Linked DNA regions of Homo sapiens: region 1 is linked to region 2. The links are contacts of gene promoters, found by promoter capture Hi-C in human tissues and cell types (Jung and others, 2019). All regions are on one chromosome and are shown on one strand. The core of a region is centred on a gene start or on the middle of the fragment in contact, and the rest is flanking DNA. Distances in the headings are between cores, read along the strand shown.

Region 1 (5,971 bases), core at 3,472-5,971, 600 kb after region 2:
GATCTCGGCTCACTGCAACCTCCGCCTCCTGGCTTCAAGCAATTCTCCTGACTCAGCCTCCCAGATAGCCGGGGTTCCAGGCGCCTGCCACCACGCCCAGCTAATTTTTTTTTTTTTTTGTATTTTTAGTAGAGACAGGGTTTCACCATGTTGGACAGGCTGGTCTCGAACTCCTGACCTCATGATCCACCTTGGCCTCCCAAAGTGCTGGGATTACAGGTGTGAGCCACCGTGCCCAGCCAGATCTTTTGTTATCTTAATTTATAGATGTATTTTTCTTTAATGACAAAACATACTGTTTCCATTGGAACAATGTAACGTTGTCTCATTGCTCAGGGAAGCTTTAAAAAACAGGACTGCAGGCCAGGTTGGGCGCGGTGGCTCACGCCTGTAATCCCAGCACTTTGGGAGGCCGAGGCAAGTGGATCACCTGAGGTCAGGAGTTTGAGAACAGCCTGAACAACATGGTGAAACCTCATCCCTACAAAAAATTAAAAAATTAGCCGGGCGTGGTGGCATGTGCCTGTAGTCCTGACTACTCAGGAGGCTGAGGGAGGAGAATCAATTGAACCCAGGAGGCAGAGGTTGCAGTAAGCTAAGATTGCCCCACAGCACTCCAGCCTCGGTGACAGAGTAAGAATCTGTCTCCAAAAAAAAAAAAAGGACTGCATTTAATAGGAATGCATCTAACATGGGCAAGGCCCAGGCTGGTGTGAAAGATAATGAAACTGCTGCTTAACACTGTGAGTGGCTTTACCACACTGAGCCATGCACCAAAAAACAGTGACAGTTTGGTGCAGTGGCTCAAGCCTGTCATCCCAGCACTTTGGGAGGGGAGGCCGAGGCTGGAGGCTCGCTTGAACCCAGGAGTTTGAGACCAGCCTGAGCAACATGGCGAGACACCATCACCATTTGTTCTTTTCTTTTCTTTTCTTTTCTTTTGAGTTGGAGTCTTGATCTGTCACCGAGACTGGAGTGCAATGGTGTGATCTCGGCTCACCACAACCTCCACCTCCCGGGTTCAAGCAATTCTCCTGCCTCAGCCTCCCGAGTAGCTGGGATTACAGGTGCCCGCCACCATGCCTGGCTAATTTCTGTATTTTTAGTAGAGATGGCATTTCACCAAATTGGCCAGGCTGGTCTCTTGGCCAGGCTGGTCTCGAACTCTTGACCTTGCGATCCGCTCTCCACGTGCCCAGCCTGAACAGTTCTTAGCTAAGTAGATTTAACATCTGATCAAGAGATGGCATTCTGGCCGGGCACCATGGCTCACACCTGTAATCCCAGCATATTGGGATGCCAAAGCGGGCAGATCACTTGAGGCCAGGAGTTGGAGACCAGCCTGGGCAATATGCTGAAACCCCTTCTCTACTAAAAGTACAAAAATTAGCCAGGTGGGGAGGTGCACGTGTGTAGTCCCAGCTACTCGCAAGGCTGAGGCAGAATCGCTTAAACCCAGGAGGTCGAGGTTGCAATGAGCCAGTGAGCTGAGATGGTACCACTGCACTCCAGCCTGGGTGACAGTGAGACTGTCTCAAAAAAAAAAAAAAAAAAAAAAAAAAAGAGATGGCATTTCTCCTTTGGTTAACATCCAGGTTTTACACAATTCTATAAAATGCCAAATTCTTCTCCCTAAAACTTACAAAGCAGATTCTAAGGAAAATACAGCAAAAGCGAACCTGCCCCCCCAGCAATGATTGATCGACTGATTTTACAGTGGAGCCCCAGGAACTCAACCAAAGTGGAGCAGGCAGGCAGACCTGGGGGCTGTTGTTCCAGGGGAGCAGGGGTACAGAAACTGCCCCACAGGCTCGGAGGCTCATGACCTGGTGGGGAGGACGCTCTGACTTCGTGCCATTTACCGGGGTTGCTTTTGGAGCTGAGCCAACCTATGACTCTTCAGAAATTTTAAAACCAAAGAAAATGATTAAAAACTAAAGCAGGGGCTGGGCATGGTGGCTCACGCCTGTAATCCCAGCACTTTGGGAGGCCGAGGCAGGCAGATCACGAGGTCAGGAGATCGAGACCACGGTGAAACCCCATCTGTACCAAAAAAATAGAAAAAAATTAGCCGGGCATGGTGGCAGGCGCCTGTAGTCCCAGCTACCCAGGAGGCTGAGGCCAGAGAATGGCATGAACCCGGGAGGCGGAGCTTGCAGTGAGCTGAGATCGCGCCACTGCACTCCAGCCTGGGTGACAGAGCGAGATTCGGTCTCAAAAAAACAAAACAACAAAACTAAAACAGGCCGGGCGTGGTGGCTCACGGATGTAATCCCCACACTTAGGGAGGCTGAGGGGGGCAGATCACCTGAGGTTAGGAGTTTGAGACCACCTGGCCAACATGGTGAAACCCTGTCTCTACAAAAAATACAAAGTTAGCCAGGCGTGGTGGTGCATGCCTGTAATCCCATTTCTCTACTTGGGAGGCTGAGGCAGGAGAATTGCTTGAACCTAGGAGTCGGAGGTTGCAGTGAGCTGAGATTGCGCCACTGCAGTCCAGCCTGGGCAACAAGAGCGAAACTCAGTTCAAAAAAAAACACACAAACAAACAAACAAACAAAAAAACACCAAAGAGGGAAAAAGGTGTTTTATTTGTTTTGTTTTGAGACGGAGTCTCGCTCTGTCGCCCAGGCTGGAGTGCACTGGCAACATCTAGGATCACTGCAAGCTCCGCCTCCCAGTTCACGCCATTCTCCTGCCTCAGCCTCCCGAGTACTGGGACTACAGGCGCCCGCCACCATGCCCGGCTAATTTTTTGTATTTTTAGTAGAGACGGGGTTTCACCGTGTTAGCCAGGATGGTCTCGATCTCCTGACCTCGTGATCCGCCTGCCTTGGCCTCCCAATGTGCTGGGATTACAGGCGTGAGCCACCACACCCAGCCGAAAAAGGTGTTTTTTTAACCTTTGGGAGCCATCGACTCTTTGAGCATCTGCTCATCTGTGACCTGTGCAAATGCCATTTGTAGATGCGTCCAGAGTGCCCTCCCCACCATCTGCAAGCACCCTAGGGTGGTGGTGGCCCTACGGTCTCATCCAAAGCCATACATCCAAGACCAAGTGCTCTGGGCCCCCAGCCTCGTCCCCCTGCCCACAGTCACTCTGCACTGGCCTCATGCACTGTGTCCCTCCACAGCCCTTAACTGCACCCGCCCCACCTCTGAGGCCGATGTCACTGCTAGAGAAACCCTCCTCGGGTGCCCTGCCTGGAGCTGCTGCCCTGCAGTGGATCAGGCTGTGTGACCTGCAGCCTGCGGAAAGCCAAGGGGGCAGTTAGACCCCACCCTGCTCTGCCAATTTGAGCTCCGGGTCACAGACTCTGGCTCTGGCAGCACCCTCTGGGGTGCCCCATTGTGGCCCTAAGGCCTCCTATCTGTTTCCTCCTGAACTGACAGCTCTGAGACGGCCGAGTGGGGTCTGCCCTGGTTACCCCTGAGTCCCCAGCTCCCAGCACAGGGCCTGGTGATATATCCATGGCAAGGCACCCCATTTCCCTCACTTCTGTCCCCAGCCACCACCCAGCCCACTCACCTCTCCCACTCCTCCTCGGCCTCCTCGGCAGTGAGCGTGCGATGCCGGGCCAGCGGTGTGAAATTGTACCAGTTGTGCACGGGGAAGGCCTCGAAGGCCCCGTCGGGGCACTGGGTGAAGATGTAGTAGGACGTGTTCTCTGTTACGCCTCCCTTCTTGATGCCCTTGAACCTGCAGGGAGCCACGGTCATGGCCTGGCCCATAGGGACCAGCCCCAGCCCCCCCGTGTCCCCCCGGGGCCTGCCTCCTTTATGGCACTTGCCATAGGAGGAAGACCAAGAAATGCCCATGAGGCCTGGGCAGGCCCTTCAACCACCTGGGCCTCGTCAATTTCCACATCTGGGGAACAGGGCCGGCGCACCTACCCTGCAAAGTGCTGGGCGTGTGCACATCGGGATCATTTCTGGAAAGACTGTGTGAGATTATCTCAGGAGAGCCCAACCCTGCAGTCAAACTGTCTACATTTGCCTCCAGCTCTGCTATCTGTGGGCCACACCCGGGAAACTGAGGAGCCAAGTGAGAAGATGGGGCGGGAAGGCATGGCCAAATTTTTTTTTTTGAGATGGAGTCTCGCTCTGGCACCCAGGCTGGAGTGCAGTGGCACCATCTCAGCTCACTGCAACCTCCACCTCCCGGGTTCAAGCAATTCTCATGCCTCAGCCTCCCGAGTAGCTGGGATTACAGGTGTCTGCCACCACACCCAGCTAATTTTTGTAGTTTTAGTAGAGACAGGGTTTCACCATGTTGGCCAGGCTAGTTTCGAACCCCTGACCCCACGTAATCCGCCCGCCTCTGCCTCCCAAAGGGCTAGGATTACAGGCGTGAGCCACCGCGCCCAGCCATGGCATGGCCAAATCTGAAGTGGACACCTGGCCCGGGCCACCATTTCCTCAAGCCTAAACAACTGCCCAGCCTCCTTGAGGCCTCTACCTCATTCTTTTCTACCCCAAAGTTCCGGACAGTCTGGGTGAGTGCCTCTTCCCTGCCTACAGCTTTCCAAGGCTCCGCTGGACCCAGCACATCCTGGCACCCACTGCCCTGTGTGAGCTGCCTGTGTCTGTCACTATCACCCAACTGCTGTGCCTGGAGCACCCTTCATCAACCTAACCTGGACCCCTCCTGTTCTGCCCTCAGTCTGCCCCCTCTGAGAGGTCATCTCAAGTGTCATGAGCTCCCAGGGCTGGCCACCTAAGCTTCCTGCATTGTGGCACTCAGAGCTGCCTCAGAGCCAGGCACAAGCACCAACTCAGTGAACTGTCTTCAAAAACACAACCCCAGGGCCTGGGCAGTGGCTCATACCTATAATCCCAGCACTTTGGGAGACCAAGGTAGGAGGATCACTTGACCCCAGGAGTTCAAGACCAGCTTGAGCAACGCAGCAAGACCCCATCTCTACCAAAAATACAAAAATTAGCCAGGCATGGTGGGGCGTGCCTATAGTCCCAGCTACTCAGGATGCTGAGGTGGGAAGATCTCGAGCCCAGGAGTTGGAGCCTGCAGTGAGCTACGATCGCACCACTGCACTCCAGCCTGGGCAACGGAGTGAGACCCTGTCTCAAAATAAATAAGTAGGCTGGGCACGGTGGCTCACGCCTGTAATCCCAGCACTACGGGAGGCCGAGGCGGGAGGATCGCCAAGTTCGAGACCAGCCTGACCAATATGGTGAAACCCTGTCTCTACTAAAAATACAAAAATTAGCTGGGCGTGGTGGTGGCAGGCACCTGTAATCCCAGCTACTCAGGAGGCTCAGGCAGGAGAATAACTTGAACCTGGGAGGTGTGGGTTGCAGTGAGCCAAGATCGTGCTACTGCACTCCAGCCTGGGCGACAGAGCAAGACTCTGTCTCAAAAAAATACAAGTAAGTAAAATAAGATAACATAAATAAATAAATAAATAAATAAATAATAAAATCCTACAGGGATGGAAGTGCCAGCACTTCCACTGCAGCAGTGGGAATCTGAGGTTCAGAGAGGGTACCCCACAAAGTATGTAAGTTGAGGCCTGGGGATGTGGACTGGTCACTAAGCCGGCACCGCCACCGCCCCACCACTTACTTCCTGCCTGATTTGCCGTTGACCCGGAGCAGCCAGGGCTGGTCCTCGGGCCGGAACTCCTTGAGGACGATGCCGTACTTCTTCCTCCGAGCCTCCTCCCGAAGCTTGCGGTTGAACTCACTGCCCGCGCCCGATTCGGGCATCTCCTCCTCTTGGTAGATTTTCTTGTTGCTCAAGTCCCGCTCCAGCCGAGCCTAGGGGAGCAGGAAGCAAAGCCTCTCAGGGTCCCTGGCTTTGCTTGCGCAGTGCCCCCCTCCAGGAACGCCCTTCCTTGCCCTAGGCCAAGCTCTAGATTCTCAAAACCAACTTACCACTTGGCAACAAGGGAGGAGAACGGTAGCCTTTGACAAATCTGGGTAAAGGGAATTTGGGCGAGCCTTGCGCTCT
Region 2 (6,273 bases), core at 3,056-5,555:
TCGCTTGAGCCCAGGAGGTCGAGGCTGCAGTAAGCCATGATCACGGCGCTATACTCCAGCCTGGGCAACGTAGCGAGACCCTGTCTCAGAAAGAAAAAAAAAAGCTACTGCTTGGGTCCTTGCAGACATCCACTGTGTGACCCTCACTCCACATTAATCTTCAAGAAAAGTGATCCAGGTCCTTGCCCCACTTCCTCATCAGCCAGGACCTCCCCGACACTTGGGATACCTGGTTTTAGTTTCAGAGATACCCCTAATGAGGCTTCGGGGAGAAGGAGTTGAAAAGCAGCTGAGAAAAGTGGGCTTGGGGCTGGGCGCGGTGGCTCACGCCTGTCATCCCAGCACTTTGGTAGGCTGAGGCGGGCGGATCCCCTGAGGTTAGGAGATCGAGACCAGCCTGACCAACATGGTGAAATCCCGTCTCTACTAAAAATACAATTAACCAGGTGTGGTGGTGCACACCTGTAATCCCAGCTACTCGGGAGGCTGAGGCAGGCAGGAGAGTCACTTGAACTCGGGAGGCGGAGGTTGCAGTGAGCCGAGATCACGCCATTGCACTCCAGCTTGGGCAACAAGAGCGAAACTCTGCCTCAAAAAAACAAAAGTGCACTTGGAGTCTCTCCCAGCCTGTGTCCCCACGGGTCAAACAGTGATGAATGGGGATCACTGCAGATGCCAGGAGGGCACATGGCACAGTCCCTGGGACAGGGGGACCCTGTCTTGAGGGCCACAGCTGCATGGCCCCGAGACACTACCCGGAGTTGTTTTTGTTTTTTGAAATGGAGTCTTGCTCTATTGCCCAGGGTGGAGTGCAGTGATGTGATCTCGGCTCACTACAACCTCTGCCTCCCGGGCTCAAGCAATTCTTGTGCCTTAGTCTCCTGAGTAGCTGGGATTACAGGCGCCTGCCACCATACCCAGATAATTTTTGCATTTTCTTTTTTTTTTTGAGACGGAGTCTCACTCTGTCGCCCAGGCTGGAGTGCAGTGGTGCAATCTTGGCTCACTGCAAGCTCCGCCTCCTGGGTTCACGCCATTCTCCTGCCTCAGCCTCCCGAGTAGCTGGGACTACAGGCACCCGCCACCACACCCAGCTAATTTTTTTGTATTTTTAGTAGAGCTGGGGTTTCATCGTGTTTGCCAGGATGGTCTCAATCTCCTGATCTCGTGATCTGCCTGCCTTGGCCTCCCGAAGTACTGGGATTACAGGCGTGAGAAGCTGCGCCCGGCCAATTTTTGTATTTTCAGTAGAGACAGGGTTTCACCATTTTGGCCAAGCTGGTCTCGAACTCCTGACCTCAAGTGATCTGCCCGCCTCGGCCTCCCAAAGTGCTGAGATTACAGGTGTTTGCCACTGCACCTGGCCTCCTCCTGAGTTTTTTGAATAAGGGTTTCCGGGAGAGTAGCTCCAGAGAGCAGCAGGCACAGTGCCCTACACAGAGCCGGGACCATGGTCTCTGCTCGGCCTCCAAACACCCATCAGCCTCCTGGACTCTAGGTGAGCCTCCCAGGGCCTCCCCAAGCAGAGGCCTTGAAACCCAAACTCCGGAGACCCAGGAGATCCAGCCCGCAGCCTGGGGAAGGGGTAGGCTGAAGGTTCCCATCCCAGAGGGGTGTCCTCATCCCAGGAGGCGCTGGATGGCACTCGACCTCCTGTTTCCTTATGTGTCCCTGGGGGAATGGGGTCAGCCTCTCCAGGGCCACCATGAGCGTTTCAGGGGAGGAGGGTACAGGTGGCCACTGCCTGGACCCCCAGGAGGGCTCTCGAGACCCTGATGTGGGTAAGCAGTGACGGGAACCAGCACCCGGAGGTCGTTCTTCCGAGGCTGGGCCCATCCCATTTTGGAACGAGTAGCCAGGCTGTCCCTGCCACCCCGGACCCCGAAGTGTGGCCGGGTGGGGCCCCTGACCCTCTCCTGGGCTCCAGGTGCTGTCTCCTGTCTCCATCTTGGGTGCACATGCCAGGCCCCCTGGGTGCCGTGTGCTCCCCACCCCTTCACGCGTGGGCACTGTCTCATCCCTGCCCCAGCCCCCACCCTCAGACCATCAGGTGAAGCCCCTGCACCCACCTGTCTGTCTGAACAAGAGCGTGGCCCTTCCCGCCCTGCCTGCAGTGGCTGTGGCTTCCTGGGGACAGGAGGCAGCTGGGTGGGGATCTGGAGGATGCTCCTCAAGCCCTGCCCTGATGGCTGTGTGTCTCCAAGGAAGTTCCTGCTGCTCTGGGCAGCCTTGCTTTCCCCCACCAAACAAAGGGGTGAAAACCCTTAGAACGCGTTGAGTCTGGGGGTCAGCTCCCTCGTGCCCCAGGAGGCCCCTGCCTCTGCCAGAGGAGTCTGATGTTCCAGGGCTGGGACTCAAGGAGTTTAGGGTGTCCTGTGATTCCGGGGCTCCCCTGCTAAGAGGCCTCACTGTGAGGCCGGGGGCGCTGCCTTGCCAGTCCGCGGGATGATGGGGTGAGGGGCCAGGCGTGCATCTCCAGCCCCCTCCCCATCCCCAAGGCCCCCACGTGGACATGGAGCTGAAAGGTCAAATGTGCTTTAATGCGGGGTGGCTCCCAGGTCCTCCCTGGGCCCCGGGGGAGTGGCGCTGGCTGGGCCTGCCGGCTGCCTGGCCTTCCTTCCCGGCTTTCCCTTCTTGGCCGTCGAGGCCTTTCTCTTGCCAGACAGAATGGGGGCCGGGGTGTTGGTGGCAGGGGGCCCCGGGTGGGGCGGCTGCTCCTCGTCGAGCGCCTTGAAGTTGAAGAAGTAGTCAACGTTGGACACGGTGTCCAGGATCTCAGGCACGCTGTAGTCAAAGGACAGCAGCTCCTCGGGCAGGCACAGCGAGCGGATGTCATCGGCTGAGTTCCCACCACTGCTGTCAGGCAGGGCCGGCCCAGGGACCTCGCACAGGGTACCCTCAGGCTCAGAGGCGCCTGGCAGGCAGTCGAAGAGCTTCATGGCGTCCTCCAGCAGAACCTTGTCAGGCAGTGCCAAAGCTCTGGCCGTCTTGGGGGCCTTGGCCTTGCCTGCTCCCAGCAGGGCCCCCTCCTTGACCTCGGCCACCTTGAGCTCGCTGAGGCCCGGTGGGTACAGGGGCACCCCAGGTCGGGCCCCACTGCCCTGCAGCTCCTTGACGGGGAAGGCCAGGGGTTCGGGCCCAGGGAAGTGGCCGAGGTGACCCTGGAGGTGGCTGTAGGCGTCTGGGGGCAGTGTGGGCTCTGCAGGCAGCGTGATGAGTACAGGGGGCGGCTTGTTCTCCTTGGGGGGTGGGGGTGGCAGCGGGGCCGGGCCTTCCTCTAGGGGCGGTAGGGGCAGCTCCACGAAGGCGGCGGGCCCTGCGTCCCCCACAAAACCCAGAGCCTCTGGCCCGGGGCCCTCAGGCGGGAAGTAGGGCAAGAGAAACTGGGGCCCCCCGGGTGCCTGCTGGTAGTGGGGGTATGGAGGCAGCCCCGGGGCCTTGAGGTAGGGCTGAGGCTCCAGGAGGTAGCTGCCTGGGGCGGAGGGGACCCCCGCTGGCCCCCCGCTGCTTGCTGCCAGCTTATACAGGGCTGACTGGCCCAGGTCGGGGGTGGTCCACTCGATCCGATAGATGCGGGGGTCGAAGAAGCACCCGCATGGGGCCATCTGGAAACCTGTGGGCGGCAGGCGGGTGCCCTGAGAGCAGCTGCTGCCTGAGGGGCCCAGCCCAAGCCTGGGGGCCTGTTTGGGAGATGCCACAAGAACCTTGCCATTGGGGGGCCCCTTTGGGGGACGACATAGATATTGCTTTGGGGCCCTGGCTGGGTGATGGATGACACAGAGCTTGTCTTTGGGGCTCATCTGGGGGACCTGTGTGAAGCATGGGGAGCAGAGGCCATGCCTTCAGGCTCCCACTTAGGGACGGGGCAGGGGCAAGATGGGCCTGCACACTCAAACCCACTCCCAGCCTCGTCAAGGGCTCAGGGGAGGCCGGTACCTGCTGGTGGGGCTGGAAACACCTCTTTCTCTGGGTCTGGGGGATGATACAGGTTCAAGGAGCCTGTGGACAAAGGTGCCCAGGTGGGTAGGGCCCTTAGGCGGGTGGGCCCCTGAACCCTCTCCAGCAGGTGCTCCCACCCACCCGATCGTACCCATAGCGGGAGGAGGCTCGGCACAGGTGGGAGCAGGCTGGTTGCCCAGCACCTCAGCCCCCTCCAGACTCTGCGGGCTGAAACCTTCCTGGGGAGCTGCAGGGGCACAGAACGGTTTGGGGTGCTGCATGGGGCAGCGGGGGGCCCGGTCCAGACAGGCCAGGAGGGCGGCAGTGGGAGTGCAAGTGGCCCAACCGGAGAACAGGCTGAGAACCTGGTGGGGTTCTGTTTGCCTGGTTACTCGGGGCAGCGGGTTCCAGCCTGCAGCGCGCCCACTGGTTGGGGTTCTGGGTGTTGGGGGCAAGCAGGGGCAGACGTTGGCAGACATGGTCATCACCATGGGAGGGAGGATTCTGGGCCAGGCCTTTGCCTCTTCCAGCAACACCCCCCTAACAGCTTTGAGGCCGCCTCCTCCAGGCAGGCTGCCCTGATCCACACCCACACAGGCTGAGGCCCCCCGGGTCCTCAACCCGCTACCTTCTTGGGGGTCAAGGCCTCTCTGGGCACCAGCAGCACCCAGCTTGGGGCAGGGCCCATGGAGGCAGCTAAGAGGTTTGGGGAAGGTGGGGGCCGAGGAGGGGCTGCTTCAGGGTCACAGAAAGGCCTGGATTTTAAAAGAATAAAATTTATTGTACTCTCCTCGCCCCAGGGTGCCCCTGGGAAAGCCTGAGGCTACTTGTACGCGTTGGCCTTGTGCTTCGGCAAGAAGGCGAAGCTGGGGGGCACTGGCCCAAGGAGCATCTCGCTGTGGGAGAGCAGGTGGAAAGCGAGGTCAGGCCCAGGACCTGCAAAGTACCCTCCGTGACCCCGGGCCCCCGACTGCAGCTCCCCAACTCCAGCCCACCCAGGCACCTGATGCGGATCCAGTCGGCTGCCTTCTGGCTGGCCATCAGCGTCTCCAGGTAGTCGCGGCCCAGGTAGTAGGGCGGCCGCTCGTTGATCCTCTGTGGGAGCCGCTCCAGCAGCCCCACGGGCACGTACCTGCGGCGGGTGGGCGGGCAGGACAGGCTTGAGTCAGCTCTAACCAGCCGCGGCCCACGCGCCGCCCACCCCAGCCAGCCCCGGTGCCCACCGGCACAGGAAGGACAGCCACTCGAGCAGAAAGCGCCGGGTCTTCTCCACGCCCTGCGTGTCCGAGCCCCAGTGCTCCAGGCCGTAGTTGGTGAAGTCCCGCAGGATGTCCAGGCGCTCGGACGACGAGATGTCCCAGTGCCGCTGCTCCTTGATCTCCGTGAAGAGCCACGGCTTGAGCAGGGCGCCACTGTGGGACGGGTGACGATCAGTGGGCCCAGCCACCAGCCTGCCTGGGATCGTGTGGCCTCTGCTTCCATGGCCTGGCCTGAGCCGGAGCCCAGACCACAAAACCTACAAGCCTAGTAAGCCTCCCAGCTGCATGCACACAACCTTCAAAGCACAGGACTTTCTTTTGTTTTTTCTGAGACGGAGTCTGGCTCTGTCGCCCAGGCTGGGGTGCAGTGGTAAGATCTCGGCTCACTGTTCAACCTCCGTCTCCCAGGTTCAGGCAATTGTCCTGCCTCAGCCTCCCTAGTAGTTGGGATTACAGGCGTGTACCACTACACCTGGCTAATTTTTGTATTTTTAATAGAGATGTTTCACCATGTTGGTCAGGCTAGTCTTGAACCTCCGACCTCAAATGATCGGCGTGCCTTGGCCTCCCAAAGTGCTGGGATTACAGGCGTGAGCCACACACCTGGCCAAAGCCCAGGACTTTCAACCCACAATCATCAGATCCCACAGCAGCAGCAATTTCCAGTCCCCTCTGCCGCAACGCAGCTGCAACTCCTGACATCGCTCTCTGCTCCTCCCATCTTGGGACCAACAGCCCACCACAGAACAGGGGTGGGTGACGGCGTGTTGGGTTCAGGGCACTGCTGCTGTGCATGAAGCTGGATCTCTAACATCCCTGGGCACTTACCGGGCAATCATGATCCCGGTGACACCAGTCTGCATGGCGCGGTTGGCATCCTCAAATGACAAGATGTCCCCATTTCCTGAGGAGACAGAGGCTGGGGTCTCAGGGAGACATGGGCAGGTGGGACCCTGGAGTTCTGCTCACCAGCCCTTCAGGAGTTTTGGCTGACCCAGTGGCTCCCATCAGGGTGGTACGAGGGGGTCCCAAGTGGGAAGGCGAACAGCCCAGAGGTGTGAGTGACCAAGGGTGG

Evidence for each region. The method cuts DNA at HindIII sites, captures the fragments that hold promoters and counts their contacts. A contact is called where the count stands out against the background at its distance.
Region 1: a contact is called between a fragment that was not itself captured here and the fragment with the promoter of PRR22 in region 2, in 1 of the 25 tissues and cell types used here (dorsolateral prefrontal cortex).

The regions. Positions count from the first base shown.
Region 1 is chr19:6,383,860-6,389,830 of GRCh38, forward strand. GTF2F1 (general transcription factor IIF subunit 1) reads right to left here. Exons shown (of 13, transcript NM_002096.3): 4 at 5,585-5,778; 5 at 3,530-3,700. MIR6885 (microRNA 6885) reads right to left here and starts at 5,844; the gene lies at 5,779-5,844. RefSeq lists an enhancer at 3,173-3,673. The HindIII fragment of the contact is 4,380 bases long and covers 2,532-5,971 here.
Region 2 is chr19:5,780,441-5,786,713 of GRCh38, forward strand. It overlaps PRR22 (proline rich 22), which reads right to left and starts at 4,306. Exons shown (of 3, transcript NM_001134316.2): 1 at 4,091-4,306; 2 at 3,937-3,999; 3 at 2,520-3,613. The coding sequence starts at 4,220. The coding sequence ends at 2,538. It overlaps DUS3L (dihydrouridine synthase 3 like), which reads right to left. Exons shown (of 13, transcript NM_020175.3): 10 at 6,027-6,102; 11 at 5,163-5,351; 12 at 4,943-5,071; 13 at 4,700-4,835. The coding sequence ends at 4,763. RefSeq lists a silencer at 292-470. The HindIII fragment of the contact is 36,623 bases long and covers 1-6,273 here.